Linked DNA regions of Homo sapiens: region 2 is linked to region 1. Evidence: promoter capture Hi-C in 16 types of primary human blood cells and fetal thymus (Javierre and others, 2016). All regions are on one chromosome and are shown on one strand. Each heading gives the region's core, a stretch centred on a gene start or on the middle of the fragment in contact. The rest is flanking DNA. Distances are from core to core; before and after follow the strand shown. Region 1 holds the start of FKBP1B (FKBP prolyl isomerase 1B). Region 2 holds the start of PTRHD1 (peptidyl-tRNA hydrolase domain containing 1).

Evidence for each region. Contacts are between HindIII fragments. The CHiCAGO score rates a contact against its expected background, and 5 or more counts as called.
Region 2: a contact is called between the fragment with the promoter of PTRHD1 here and the fragment with the promoter of FKBP1B in region 1, in 10 of 17 cell types (M2 macrophages, non-activated CD4 T cells, neutrophils and 7 more). The highest score is 11.4, in M2 macrophages.

Annotation. Positions count from the first base shown.
Region 1 is chr2:24,048,030-24,051,025 of GRCh38, reverse strand. FKBP1B (FKBP prolyl isomerase 1B) reads right to left here and starts at 1,285. Exons shown (of 4, transcript NM_004116.5): 1 at 1,140-1,285. The coding sequence starts at 1,176. RefSeq lists a silencer at 1,124-1,423. The HindIII fragment of the contact is 22,874 bases long and covers 534-2,996 here.
Region 2 is chr2:24,791,913-24,794,757 of GRCh38, reverse strand. It overlaps PTRHD1 (peptidyl-tRNA hydrolase domain containing 1), which reads left to right and starts at 1,367. Exons shown (of 2, transcript NM_001013663.2): 1 at 1,367-1,632. The coding sequence starts at 1,381. CENPO (centromere protein O) reads right to left here and starts at 1,333. Exons shown (of 8, transcript NM_001322101.2): 1 at 1,257-1,333; 2 at 793-906. The coding sequence starts at 838. It overlaps LOC105369164 (a long non-coding RNA gene), which reads left to right and starts at 1,683. Exons shown (of 3, transcript XR_939843.4): 1 at 1,683-1,991; 2 at 2,174-2,374. RefSeq lists an enhancer at 1,277-1,706. The HindIII fragment of the contact is 6,911 bases long and covers 1-2,845 here.

The DNA of each region.
Region 1 (2,996 bases), core at 36-2,535:
GGAGTGAATATGAGATTGGGGACGAGATTGAAAGCAGGGAGGAGAGACTGAAGATGGGGAGATTAGCTCAGGGGCTGCTGAGGGATGAAAAGGCCTCAGGGAGATGCTTTCTGGGACCCAGCAGCAATGTTTCCTGCGTGGGCAAAGAAGCCTGTACTCCAGGGGATATCTGAAGTAGTGGCTGGGATTGGACAAGGAAGATGGCCTGGAGCCAAGAAGTTATCCAATTTCCTGGGGAGGGGAGCTGTTCATATTAATAATATCTGATATGAAGTTTGCCCATCAAACCCTGCAGACAATGGGGGCTTTGGTATTAATTAAATTTCAAGAAATAAAGAAATGGCTATTCCTTGCACACCCAGACCCAGTAATACAAGGACTTGGGAAAGTGAGACACGGAAGGGGGATAAAGAGGATCACTTAGGAGAGAAGGTGGGAAGCGAGAGTTCTGTTTTGGACTTGCTGACCAGGGAGCACCCTGGGACGTCCAGGGAGAGGTTCGGCCGTAGGTCGCAGGGCTGGGCTTAGAAGCTTCAATGTGGAGGCCATGGGAGTGGACAGGGTGGCCAGGGAGTCTGAAAGCGGCGGCAGGATAAAGCGAGATCCGGAAGCGGGCAAGGGAGCGCTTCCCCCTTCCCCAGCCTGGGTCTGTCCCCACAGCCGCTCACAGCCCGGCCCGCAGGGAAGCGACCGAGGGGAGGCCCGGCGGGGGACGCGCTAGGAGGAGGTCCCCGAGCAGCGGGTATCCGAGAGCAGGTCCTGCTTTCCAGAGCTCGCCGAGTAGGGCAGGGAAAGCGAAGCCGAAACCCAGGCTGGGGTATCAGCAGCAGCGGATAACCGAACGACTGCAGCCGCGACAGGAGAAGCCCGGGGCGGTGGCGGGCCGCAGACCCCCGCCTCCGGGCCGCAGACCCCCGCCTCCGAGCTGCCGCCTACATTCCCCTAGGTGAGCGCGGAAGAGGATGGCGGAGGATGGTCTCCTAGACCCCCAAGAATCCCGTCCGGCGTCTCCGCCTGCCTTCCCCATCCAGCCCCCCGACCCTTCAGCACCCTCCACGCCACCTCCGAATCAGACCCCCGCCCTCCGGGCTCCGCCCCGGGACCCCTCCCCTCCCCTGGCTCCGGAGGGAGCCCGGTACCGTCTCCGGGGGAGATGGTCTCGATCTCCACGCCCATAGCGGTCCCACAGGCCCCGCCTCTGGGGGGTCCCTGCTGCTGCCCGACCCCGGCTCGGCTCCGGCCCCAGCCCCGCCGTCGCTCCGGCTCGCCTCCTCGCCGCCACTGCAGAGCCGGAGGAGGTGCGGCTGGAGTCGGGACCTGCGCGGGGAGGGGCCACTGGCAAGGGGGCGGCGGGGCGGAGCCGCGCGGAAAGGTGGGGTCGGCCGGGGCGGGGCCCGGGGGAAGGGACCCCGCCCGGCTGTTAGCGAGCCTGGCCCCGCCTGACGACATTAACCCACTGACCAGGGAGCGTGGTAAGCACAACCACATCCTCCATCCATCCATTCATTCGCGCATCCGTCCAATAGACATTTATTTAGCATCTAATCTGTAGTAAGCTCTGGGAAGTCAACCCAGTCCTACAGACTTGTGGGGGGTGGGGGGCAGAAGGGGCAAAGGCCGGCGATTAAACCATCATTTTATTTTTATTTTTATTTTAGACAGAGGATCTTGCTCTGTCGCCCAGGCTGGAGTCCAGTGGCGCGATCATAGCTCACAGCAACCTCGAACTCTTAGGCTCAAGCGATCCTTCTTCCTCAGCCTCCACCCAAGTAGCTGGGACTAGAGGCGCGAGCAACCACGCCCAGCTAATCTTTTATTTTTTATTTTTATTTTTTGTAGAAACGGGGTCTCGCTGTGTTGCTATCTAATGAAACCATCACTTTAATTAGATGCGCTCAGTGCCGTGCAGTTCAGAGCGTTGCGGAAGCACAGAAGAGGTTCCTACCCTCGCTAGGCGTCCTGGATCTGTAGGAGCAGAGCTGGGGGAGGGAGGGAGGACACCAGTAATTGCTGACTCTCCCCCATACCCCTAAACCCCTGTTCTCCATCTCGTGTAGTTCTGCTCGACGCACATTTATTGGGTACTCAATTTTCAAGGCAAAGAAATGCGCCCTGGGGATACCAATAGAATTAAGACAGGTTGGCTGTCTTCCAGGTACTAAGTCTGAGAGGGACGGGGACACACAGTTACTGCATGGAGTGATTAGTGCTGTGGAATGAATGAATGAATATGTAAATGAATTCTACTTTGAGTTCCTCCTCCACCAAAAAATACATTCAGGAATCTAGAAAAATATTTTTTGGAGGAGGTAATATTTGTTTAAAGGGTAATTGGGACTTTTAAAATTTTTTCCCCCTCATTATTACCTGCATTGTTCCAAAAATTGATGTGAGGCCAAGTATATCAATTTTTGGAACAATGGCTCACACCTGTAATCTCAACACTGTAGGAGACCGAGGCAGGAGGATTGCTTGAGCCTAGAAGTTCAAGACCAGCCTGGGTAACATAGCGAGATCCCGTCTCTCTCTCTCTCCTTTTTTTTTTTTTTTTTTTTGAGACAGAATCTTCACTCTGTCGCCAGGATGGAGTGCAGTGGCACAATCTCGGCTCACTGCAACCTCCGCCTCCCAGGTTCAAGCGATTCTCGTGCCTCAGTCTCCCAAGTAGCTGGGATTACAGGCGTGAGACACCAGCGTTCGGCTAATTTTTAAATTTTTAGTAGAGACAGGGTTTCACCATGTTGGCCAGGCTGGTCTCGAACTCCCGACCTCAGGTTATCCGCCCGCCTCAGCCTCCCAAAGTGCTGGGATTACAGGCATGCCATCTTTATTTTTAAAAAAAGAAAAGAAAAGAAAAAGAAAAACATAAAAACTGATGTGAAGATATGATTCTCCTGAGTGGCACTGGAAGATAGGCATGGGGAGAAAAGCCTGGCAAACTGGTCCAGAATGAGCCCCAAGGGTGTTCTTCCTCCATTTCCTCATCCCCACTCTCC
Region 2 (2,845 bases), core at 118-2,617, 740 kb before region 1:
AAACCAGAACTGTCCACAAATATTACTAGGCACTAAAGAAGAAAGCAACTTACTCCTGGACAGAAATTCAAACGCAAATCTCAGTTTCCAAAGGATTGACTAAGGACTAAGTAAAAGTAATAGTTTCGTAATTCTAAGCAACTCTAACAAGCATTCTTTAAACACCTTCTACATTTTAAGACACAAAGTATGTAAAGAATTAAGCCTTTCATTGAATATTTCCTATATATTAGACATGTGCTAAATGCTTCACTTGAAAAGTCTGAGTTCAATACTTTTCCACCACAAAAGAAATACTTTTTCCACAACCACAACTACAGTGCTATTTTCACCTCCATTTTCCAGATGAAGAAACAGAGGCAGAGAATAAAGTGACTTGCCTAAGGTCACAATATTTATCATGGCAGAGCCAACACTCAAAACCAGTTCTAGCCAACACTAAAGTCACTGCCCTACACTGGCCCTCCCTCAAGAGTAATGCATACATGGCCCAAAAAATCCGGGGAGAGGAAAGGGACCTCCCTGGCTAGAACCGCAGTTCAGAATATAAACACTGAGCATATGATGGATGCAACTTATCCGTTTCAAAAGGGGTGGGAGCCTAGAAACGAAGCCATTTTTCCTCCTCGAATAATCTTGGCTGCCTGTCCCTTTGTCTTCAATGTTAGTTCCTTTCACTATTCTGCTCCCAAACAGGCCAGGTCCCACGTCAGTTCCAGGAGGAAAGGGCTCTCTCAGCCTGCGGGTCATCTTTGGGCAGCAGCAGGAAGGAGGCGGCGACCCTCTGAATACCTCCTTTGGACTCGCCATCTGGACGTAAAGGGTTCGCCTGCTCCATCTCAGATTCCCAAGGGCCTTCCCATGAAGTTGTCTAGGCAACCGGTGATAGGGACTCCAATGTCCTTGCTAATAAAAGAAAAATGGCAACAGTCACATCACATCTAGTCCCATTCAAACCCAGACGGCAGGGCACACACCACTCAGGCACAACCCCTGGGCCGCGGATGACACAAATGTCACGGCTAGGATCCCCTTTCCTGAGCCGCCCGCCCTCTCCCATCGTCCGAGCCAGCAGAGTCCATGCCCACCCCCGCGCCCATCCCGCGGCCCCGGCGCGCTCCCGAGGCCACGGCTACTCTGGTCCAGCGGGCTTCCCGGCCACGGAAGGAGTTTTAAGAAGGCCGTTCAGCCCGCCACCCTGGCCACGGTCCGGTCCGACAATGGGTCTTTCCCCTACCTTCTCCCTTCTAGCTCACCCAGGCCAGAAGCGAGAATTCCCGCCATCCACGTCTTCAAAACCAAACCAACCGGTCCCGGCGTGCTTTGCGATCCTGCCGTACAAAAGCATGGCGGCGCTCAGGGCCCCGCCCTGATCCCAAGATGCACCGGGGAGTAGGTCCGGCCTTTCGGGTGGTCAGGAAGATGGCGGCCTCTGGGGCGGAGCCGCAGGTCCTGGTACAATACTTGGTGTTACGAAAGGATCTATCACAAGCTCCGTTCTCCTGGCCGGCGGGCGCACTGGTAGCGCAGGCTTGTCACGCGGCCACCGCGGCCTTGCACACTCACCGCGACCACCCGCACACAGCCGCTTACCTCCAAGAGCTGGGGCGCATGCGCAAAGTGGTCCTCGAGGTGAGGCACTCGGGCGGAGGGGGAGGTGCTGAGACATCGAGGGCGGAAGTGGGTGTGGTCTTCGGTCCGAAGGCCTGGCTGCGGGGAGTGGGTGCGGCGGGAGTTGGGGTGATCGTTAACATTTAGACTGGAGCTGTTTCCCTGGAGGTGCGCCCTTGGGAAGGGCCTGACTGTGTGAAGAGTGGACAGCAGTCCTCCGCCCCCTGCTGGGCTCGCGGTAAAGTGGTGGCTCCTGTGTCCCCGCTGTTCCGCCTGTGCACTGGCCGACTTTTTAAAGCCATGCCCCAAAGTGCTGTCCTCCTGCAAAACCGAGCCCGAAGGGACAGTGCAAAGTGAAGTCAAACTGAGTATTTACCTGGGTAGGACGCCAAATTATTTGAAAATAAATACTAAAAACGTTAGTATAAATTGAACCTAGCTTCAGCTAGACCAGGCACCAGGTGTGTAAATCGGTACACCTTTTAAAATAGCAGTCAGGTTCTGTTTGCAGATGACCAAACAAATCTCACCCTTACCCTTTGACTCTCTATCCTGCTGCTAGAGATGTAGCCTAAGAAAATAATCAGATGCACCCAAAGAGCTTTGCACAAGGATATTCATGGGAGCCCTTATGGTTTTGAAGCATATTTAGTGGTCGGGAAGAGTGCTCATGATGCGAAGCTAACTGAACTATATATACAGAATGATCCAGACTTTGAAAGGAAAAACTAAAGAAATACATCTACATATTAAGTAGTGCATGGTGAGATTTTGGTTATTTCCTAATGCTTAATCTGTATTTTTAAAATTTTCTACCTTAAGCACATATTTTATAATAAGGAAAAACGGCTTTAATAATAAACGGCTTTTTATAATAAGGAAAAACGGCTTTAAGCCAGAACTCAGGTGGAGGGGTGGAGTAATCCCTTCATGGGTAACTGACAAAGATAGATTATCTTTCAAGAGAAAAATTGCTGCTGGATAGTGAAACATCAAGCGGTAACCTGTAGGAAAAATGCCTTGAGAATCTGTGTAGGCAGAACAGAAGCTGCTGGCTTTTCACTTAGATTTTCTTCCTAGTAAGAGGTCTCAAGAAATCAGGTTAGACTCCTCTTGTCGCAGGTGAAACTCTCTGAAGCCTACAGGGATTAAGTGACTCCCCTGAGTTTAAAAGAGGGTCTCATGATTCTTAGTTGTTAGTCATGACTCAAGAAAGGGACTTAGGAGTCGCTAC